2 separate regions of the Homo sapiens genome follow, and region 2 is linked to region 1. Evidence: promoter capture Hi-C in human tissues and cell types (Jung and others, 2019). All regions are on one chromosome and are shown on one strand. Each heading gives the region's core, a stretch centred on a gene start or on the middle of the fragment in contact. The rest is flanking DNA. Distances are from core to core; before and after follow the strand shown.

Region 1 (4,276 bases), core at 1,115-3,614:
GAGAAGAGCTGGAGAAGCAGGAGGAAAGCTGGGTGAGGGCAGGAATCTGGAAGCAGAGGGGAGCAGGCGGCATGGGCAGCGCCTTCACTGCAGCAGGTCAGGCATGGACAGCTGACCCAGGCCTTTGCTGCCCGAGTGTGGCAGGTGGACATGGGGAGGGGATTGTTGGCTTGCCTGAGAGAGTGGTTGGGGAGGTGGGAGCTGTGGGGCTGTGTAGACTAAAGGTGCAGCCAGGAGACTCCAAGTTTGGAGAGCCTTCCCTGATTGCTTCCTGTAGAACGATGGACTCCCTCTCCAGTGCTCTTACAGCCACCTCTGTGTAGCATCTCAGATGGATTGTCTCCTCTCAAACAGAGACTTTCCCCAAAGCAAGGCACTAGCACAGACTGATGCTCAGGAAATTGCTGTGGCCTGAAAGGGTAAATAAGAAATGGGGAGTGGGCCACTAGTTAACAAATGCTATCAGCATAGCCCATCTGCATGTCCTGCTACTGAGGAAAGTGCTCTGAGAGGTCATCATTGGGGAAGGAACTGAGGGAGAAAGAAAATGGGGTTGCTTTCTGGCCCTAGTCATGCAGGGAGTGGATCTCTGTGGAGTTTCTTTCTCTCTGTAATGGCCAGTAGCTGCCCTGCCCTCTCCCGAGTGTAGAATGCAAATGTGAATGGCAGCACACTGCAAATGGTGCTCTGAAGTGCGAAGGCCAGGAAGAAGGGATGGCCTGGATCCTGGCCACAGAGCCAGCATTCTGCCTGGGCTCATAGCCCTGTGGTCTGGGATTCTCCAGGCCTGGCCATGGTTGCTGGTAAACCTAGGGTCCTCCCCTCACTTCCCTGGGTGATGCGCCCCATGGGCAGGTTTGTGGCATGCATATGGGAATGGAGCACAGTAATTCATTTTGGAAAGCAACCCACTCCTGCTCTGCTCCAGCTCGTTAGTAGTTCAAGCAGCAGCTTTCTGGGCCTGGGAGGCCATCCTGGGCTGCCAGGGACACTGCCTGCCAACGTAAGACCTCCTCAATTGGTGCTGACACAGGACTGAGGGGATGACAAACTGCCTGGCACCCCTTAGGTGGTCTTCCAGAGGAGTGGGTTTTGAGAATTGTCAGGCTTTCCACTTGTGGATGCATTCCAATGGTGAACTCAGTAAAAGGCCACTCTTCAGAGACCTGCATTTCTCATAGCAGCCCTAGGCATATATCCCGGGCATGACAGGGCACAGCTTGGGGTTGATGCTGATGGCAACTCTGAAGCCTCAAGACTGAGTGGGTCACCATAAGCAGCAGGAAGTTGAGGTGCCGGGATGGGGTGTGATGCTTCCACTCCTCCCTGGAACTTTGCAATACTTCCCTAGCCAGGCCGGCGACTCCATCCCGGGCTGTCCTCTCCCGATACAGGTCCACTCTCTGTGTGCCGGGGCAGGGGAGGGAGTGATGCTGCAGGAAGGTCCCTTCACCTCCAAGTCCCCACTCCTCAGTGGACAGGCCTTTGTAGGATCAAGCTTCGGTGGTCAGGCTCTGTCTTGCTTTGGAAGAAGGAGGTCTGGCTGGCTGTCGCTTCATATTAACCTGGATGACGTGACATGAATATGCCCAGTGGGACAAGAGCAGGCCCAGCAGAGGCCCCTTCCTCCTGACCATACCCTTCACCATTCTTGTCAACCTTGGGGTGTCTTGGCTGAGACCCACAGCTGAGTCCCTGCTGGAAACTAGCAGAACGCTGGGGGGCTTCGAGTCTTCTTAGGAAGGGAGGAAAGACACTCTCATTGTAATCAAAAGCCTCTCCGCACAGCAGGCCACTTCTCCAGTGAGCACGGACCCCTGGCCTGGGGCCTGGCTGAATGTAGGGTCTGCCTACAGAGAGGGAGTTTGAGGTACAGAGCACCACCTCTGCCTTCTGTTGGCCCAGGGCGGACAGTGTAGGGTGAGCCAGGGCCAGGCAGGGAGCTGGGCCCCTAGAGAGCTGTAGCTGAAAGTTAGACATGACCCTGAACCACCAGGTGCCTGCTCTAGGCACGGGGTACTGAGTGGGACATGGCTGAGATGAACAAAAAGGCATCACTGCCCAGAGTTGGGATGGGAGAGAGTCCACAGCTGATTGGAATCAGCATTGTCAGCACAGCACAGTACAGGGAGATACGCGCATTGCCGTCTCTGGATGGGCGGCTGGCACTTTCAGTTCAAAGGCGCTGAGGCTCTGAAGTTGGCAAGGAAGAGGATAACCCGGAGAAGGGAGGACTAAGAGAATTTCACTTGATGACCCTTGCCTCTTTGTGTCTGGGATGAGCCGCGCGGAGCGCACCCTTATCCACCCAGAGTGCTGTGCCTTTAAGGTCCACTGGGGGCGTGATGTCAGCCGCCCTCCGGCACTTGGAGAGGTGAGCGCGGCAGCCCGCGCAGCCGGTGACTGGGGGACTGGGTTTGGAGTAGGACCTGCGGCGTGCTCGAGACTCCGACTTCGGTCTTGCGGCGCGCTCGCGCCCGCGGGCCATGCCCCACTGACTCTAAGTGGGCACTGCCCCGGCTCCGGGAGGGCGAGACCGAGCGCCGGCCATGGGAAGCTTCCAGCTGGAAGACTTTGCGGCGGGCTGGATCGGAGGTGAGTGTGCTTACCGGGGACCCCCGGTCAGAGAGAGCGAGCCTGGCGGAGTTTGCCTCTATGCTCTGAGGAAACTTTGCCTCTGTGCGCTGCCATCCCGCTCCCCGTTGTGCGCGCAGCCTGCTTTGGGGAGTGCCCGGCCCCGAGATCCCCCTGGTGGTCTTGCAGTTGCCAGGGCTAAATTCTGAGAGCTTCACAGCGTTTCGGGCTGAGCTTCTGATTTGCTCATTAAGTTAGGATCCGTGGGACTTGATGAGGTAATGATTAAACAGCTCGTCAAAGCCCACAGCCAATGGAGGCTCCTGGCGGCGCACACACCCTTCAGTGACCTGGTGCACACCTGAATTGCGGACGTGGCTCGCGGGAACTTATGTATGAGGGTAGCGCTTGGCTGCTGATCCCGGGGCGCAGGGTGGTGGGAGCCAGGCTTCGAGATTAGGCCGGCCCAACGGGGCGTCCCGACTGGAGGGAGCAGAGCTCTCACAGCAGGGAGCGGAGCGCCGGCTGCAGGTGCCCATTGCCAGGCTGCGAGGAGCACTTATTGCCTTCAGCCGCCGCCAACCGTCAGCCATCGCCTACCTCCAAGGCCCCTTCTCCGGGCACTGTTGGGTCTGCTGATCCCTTCGCCACAGCTCCCGAAGCCACTCTTTTACTGGGCCTGGGATGGGTTGCCTGGGCGAGAGTTGCATTCATTTCCTTGCTTCTCCATTTTTCTTTCCAATTGGTCTATCCCTCTTTTCTCAGCTATTAGGAAAGGGGGAAGTTTGAGGGACTTTGCTAATTGTAAAAAAAAAAAAAAAAAAAAAAAAAAGTCTTTCTTTGGACCCATCTAAAAGGGTTATCCTAAAAGGGATGTTGGCAAATGTAGCCCCTCACCAAAGGGGTGAAAAAATAAGATGAAAAGAACAACAAACCAGATTGGATCCCAACTCCTCCCCTCCTACCTAGCAGGAGACCACCTCTCTCCCGAGACCGGTGGCTGCAGGGCCCTGCTTCACACCTTCCTGAGCAGAGGTGGCTCCTTTCACCTTGAGTAAGTCTGTTGGCACAGATGCCCTTGGGTGGGGCTGAGACCCGCCTCTCCTAACTTTCCCAGTTAGGGGGCTGCAGCCTGAGGCCCGCTGGGCATATCCAGGTCCTTTTTGACTGGACAATTATTCCACCATTCAGCGGGGCAGGCAGAGAGAGGAGACACTTCCGTGGGCTGCCCCTTAAATAAGCAGACCACCTTCGGTAGGGATGCAAATGGCTTGGTTTGAAAAATGCCCTGGAAGGTAGGGCTGAGTCAGAGTAGTTCCAAGACTCTGATACCCCTCCCCATCCCCAAACGTGATAACATGTGAACCCTCCCCGACTCACAGCAAGTAGGGGATTTTTGTGCTTTATTCTGGTCCTTACTTTGGTGATGTTATTGAAAGTAATGGCAAAAATCGCAATTACTTTTGCACCAAACTAATAACATGGCTTTTTTTTTTTTTGGCTTCCATGAAATGATGGTAAGTGTTTACTACACTTGAATACTTACTAGGTGCCAGGTATAGTTTAAGTGCTATATGTATTCTTTTAAAACAATTTTATCAAGGTTTATTTTATGTATTATAAAATTCACCCATTTCAAATGTACAATTCAATGTCTTTTAGTAATTTTACAAAGAGGTGCAACCATCACCATAAATTTGTT
Region 2 (4,223 bases), core at 616-3,115, 400 kb after region 1:
CTCAGAAGGAGCCAACCCTGCTGATGTTGATCTTGGACTTGTGGCCTCTAGAACTGTGAGGGAAGAAACTTCTAATGTTTAAGCCACACAGTCTGTGGTATTTTTTAGGAAAGCCCTAGCAAGTTAATACACAGGGATCTTTACTTTTTCTATATAAGAAGTATATAAACAATTGTTTCTTATAATTTAAGGACAGAGGTGCACCAGGAAATGTGAAAGTCCCATTTCAGATCTTCTCTCCTTTTATTCCCTTCCCCAGAGGACGCCCGGTCAAAAGCCCTGTAGCCTCCTTGGAGTTCTTCTCTATGTTTGCATTTGTACTGTTACATAGATTAGATTCCCCTATTTGTATTTTTCTATAACTTGCATTTTTTCACTTAATAATGTGTTAGGGATTTTCCCATGTCAGTACAAAACAGTCTTTCTCATGCTGGATGTACAGTATCCTACACCTTATTCTAAAGTGTGACTATATCACAGTTTATTTAAACATTCTCATATCAATGGACTATTTCCAGGTTTTTCCTTTAACGAACATCTACGTAAAATGATATTGGATCTATTCCCAGAATTGGAATTGTTGAGTCAATAGGTCAGTGCTTTTTATTTTAACTTTAGCTTATTTATTTAATCATGTAGAAGGTAAAGCAACAACATGATTTATAAAGGATAAAAAGTATAAAGAAAAAGGAATTCCACCCACCATGCCCCCTATTCCCACCTCTCAACAGGCACCCCGTGGTGTCTTTCTTGTGGACCTTTCAGAGGTTTGTTCTTTTCATTTGCTTATACAATCACAAATGAATCACATTCCCTTTTCTTTCTCTCTTACACAAGAGAGAGCCCACTATATACATTGTTCTGGAACTTGATTTTTACCTCCTACCACTGTAACTTGAAGGTCTTTCCCCATCAGCATATACAGAACATATTTATCCTTCTTAAAATAGAATTGCACAGCATCCCATTTTTCAGATGCATCGTAGTCTATTTAATTAGATTCCTATTAATGCTCAGTTTGTTTTTAATTTCTTGCTGTTCCAAACAAGCTGCAATCAATAGCTTATGGTTCATGCCTTTTAGATTTTGATAAATTGCTTCCTGATACATTCTCTCAACCCCTTTATCTGTCAGGCAAAATTGTTCTGTTTTTAAATGGCCTTCCAGCATCACCTCTGGAAGCTTCCCCCATAGTCAATCTCTGTCTCTGTCCCCACACCACTCCCCACAACCTGGTTGCACTGGCCCCAGGGCATTGGAATTTGTTGATTGCCCTGTATGATCTCCTCACTGGACTATGAGTTTCTCTAGGCAGGAACTGTGTCTTAGTCATCTTGGTATCACCAGTGCCTAGTGCGGATTTGGCATACAGTAGGTACTTAATAAATAACACGTGAGAGGCGAAAGGGGCCTGGGGGCTGAAAGTCATTCTGATTGATTGCCATGGGTCATCTGCACGAGGTCCTGAGAAGACAAGTGTAAAAGAGAGAAGACTCATGACCCCAGTTCTTTCTGCTCTCGCTGGGCCTCATGGTGGTACCAGCAATGCCATGGGGCAGACTGACTTTGACTGCTTCTATTTCTAGAAGCAATCCAGGAAGAATGCCTGTTCTTTGCTGTTCTGGCTGCACATTTAACAACACATGGGCTTCTAACATCATTCCCCTCATTGCTGAAAAAAGCAATGTAAATTAGATGAAGGAGAGCAAGCATTTTCAGTGACCTGGCCTTACCTCAATTTCCTGATAGGAGTTGTTTATCATGGCTATTAGCATGTTGAGCAACACTACCACCATGGTGACGTTATAAACGCCGTAGAGAACGTAGCCAATGTTCTCGATGAATTTGTGGTCGTATTTCAGCACCACTGAGATTACTTCAGATAAGCCGAATATGGACCAAAACAAAGTTTTAAAACTTTCTTCAACCCTGCAAAGAAACAGACGGTCCTTTTACGCAGTTTGCATCAGCTTGAACTTTTATTTATTCATTCATTTATCTTGAGACAGGGTCTCACTCTGTTGCCTAGGCTGGAGTGCAGTGGCTCAATCATGGCTCACTCTAGCCCTGACCTCCTGGACTCAAGCAATTCTCCTGCCTTAGCCTCCTGAGTAGGTGGGACTACAGCTGTGCACCACCGCACCTGGCTAATTGTTTCATTTTTTGTAGGGATAGGATCCCACTATGTCGCCCAGGCTGGTCTTGAACTCCTGGGCTCAAGGTATCATCCCATCTTAGCCTCCCACAGTGCTGGGATGACAGATGTAAGCCACTGCATCTGGCCAGCTTGAACTTTTAAAATGAAAGTTGCCATTGGTCATGCTTTACCCTGGAGTGCCCAGTTGTTACCCTGGAGTGGGGCTGGGCTGGTTGGTGATGCCTGCATTCTGAGATAATGTGATATTCAGATTTCTAAGAAGACTTTGAAAGAATATTAAAAATGGCAAGCTCTTTATTTTTTATTCAATCCATTTATTGGGACTCCTGGCTGTGGTATCACTTTTCTCTTACTGTAATTAACTTAAACATTTAAAATTAAACACCTGGGTAAATGTTTGTTCTTGTGCATTATGAGCCCCAGAAAGTGCATTCTTCCTTCCATTAAGCCCTAACCATTTCTTCTCAGACTCCACAGCCCACGTGAAGGGGAGTGATGGCAGACACCTGGAAAGTGGGCAGTGTCCACACAGGAGGATGGCATCCCTGGAGTCTGACACTTCTAGGCACTCGACAAAGAGCAGCTCACTTAAGCCTCATGACCAGCTCTGTGGCGGGCTCTCATATGACCTCCTGTTACAGAGCTGAGGCTAGCCACATGTATTAAGCTTTCTAAACTGGGGCTGAATTATCAAGAATGAGAGTGGGGATTTTGGTGTGCCCACATGGTTCAAAATCACCAGGTGATTGCCCAAACCTCACCCTACGGCTCACTTAGGTTAGATGCTGCATGTGCCTTGAAGGCAGTTCAGGTTAGTCTCAGCTTTAACGACACTGCTCTTTGGCCCTTTTGAGACTACGAAGTAACTGAAATACAGTAGTGTTATGAATAAGACCCAAGTGCATTTCGTAGTCCATACTCTATGGGCATGACACTGTATCAGGCTGATGACCTAGAATCGAATAAGAAAGCTGGATTTTGGTTGGGAGGTTTAGACCATGCATGTATATCTGGTAACATCTGAATGGTTAAGTGCAGTTCTTTTAGTTTTCATCCAGATTTTTGGTACCACTGTAAGAAAGCACTTTTTTTTTTCCTCTTTAACATTTCAGGTTTTCAACACTCACCCACAAATGGCCAGGATTAGCTAGATCTTTAAAAATATCAGCATTTCTCAAGGATTGGTATTTATTTGACAAGATGTACAAAAATACTGGTACTCGTCACTTGGGCTAAAAATCCAACTCTTGACTCGCATGAATTTACAGCTCTCCCGAGTGTGATTGTGTGGGGGTGTATGTGTATCTGTGTGTGCGTGTGCATGTGTGTGTGTCTACCCAGCTGTTTGGCTCATTCCCTATGCACACTCTTCAGAGTCTGAAAAACTGATATTTGAAGTGGGATTCTATTGTCAGTGTTTGTTTTTAGTTTCTTTTAAAACTGTGATTTTGAAACATTTAATTCATTTTAGCATTAGCGAGAAATAATTTAGTTGGGTGTTTATAAGCAACGACAGGGTATTAAGCCATTATTGCAGAGCTCCAGCTCCTGGTGCTATTCTGGAAGGGGGGAGAACTGTTTTCCTCATGTGAGATGCAGCATTTTGTGTGAAAAAGATGTCATCCACCCTGTGTCATGATTCACTGCAGTACTGTGTCCCATTATGAACAATCTTTCAGTTATCACACTCGTGGAAGGGAACAGTGGCAGAGAGATTTCAAAACCACCAGATGAACCCTAAATTCCAAACTGGAAGGAGACAGTAGGCCGTGATCTCTCTTAGAGTTGCTCCCTTCCTGGCAGGATCAGTGAAAACTGGAGAACAGTGTCTGAAGGGGAGGCTGGGCAGACAAGGGCTGATCTAGGATTATACACTTGTCATGGACCAACAAAGGAATGGATCATACTTGCCATAGAGAAAGGCTTTACCCAAATTCATCTTCCCTTTCTTACCTTGGAACAACCCAGAAACCTTTGGCTGACACAAATGAAGTGAGCGATTACAGAACACATCCAGGGAAAACCCTCTGAATTTTGATTAGGGAACGTGGGCCTACATTCAGCT

Evidence for each region. Contacts are between HindIII fragments. The study calls those that stand out against the background at their distance.
Region 2: a fragment that was not itself captured here is called in contact with the fragment with the promoter of SLC25A48 in region 1 in 2 of the 25 tissues and cell types used here (IMR-90 fibroblasts and lymphoblastoid cells).

What each region holds. Positions count from the first base shown.
Region 1 is chr5:135,832,299-135,836,574 of GRCh38, forward strand. SLC25A48 (solute carrier family 25 member 48) reads left to right here and starts at 2,365. Exons shown (of 8, transcript NM_001349336.2): 1 at 2,365-2,595. The coding sequence starts at 2,550. RefSeq lists an enhancer at 1,330-1,831. The HindIII fragment of the contact is 4,672 bases long and covers 1-4,276 here.
Region 2 is chr5:136,229,621-136,233,843 of GRCh38, forward strand. TRPC7 (transient receptor potential cation channel subfamily C member 7) reads right to left here. Exons shown (of 12, transcript NM_020389.3): 8 at 1,734-1,929. All of the region lies in intron 1 of TRPC7-AS2 (TRPC7 antisense RNA 2), which reads left to right. Among named protein-coding and RNA genes, the nearest start is that of TRPC7-AS2, 5.1 kb to the left of the region's middle. The HindIII fragment of the contact is 4,556 bases long and covers 1-4,143 here.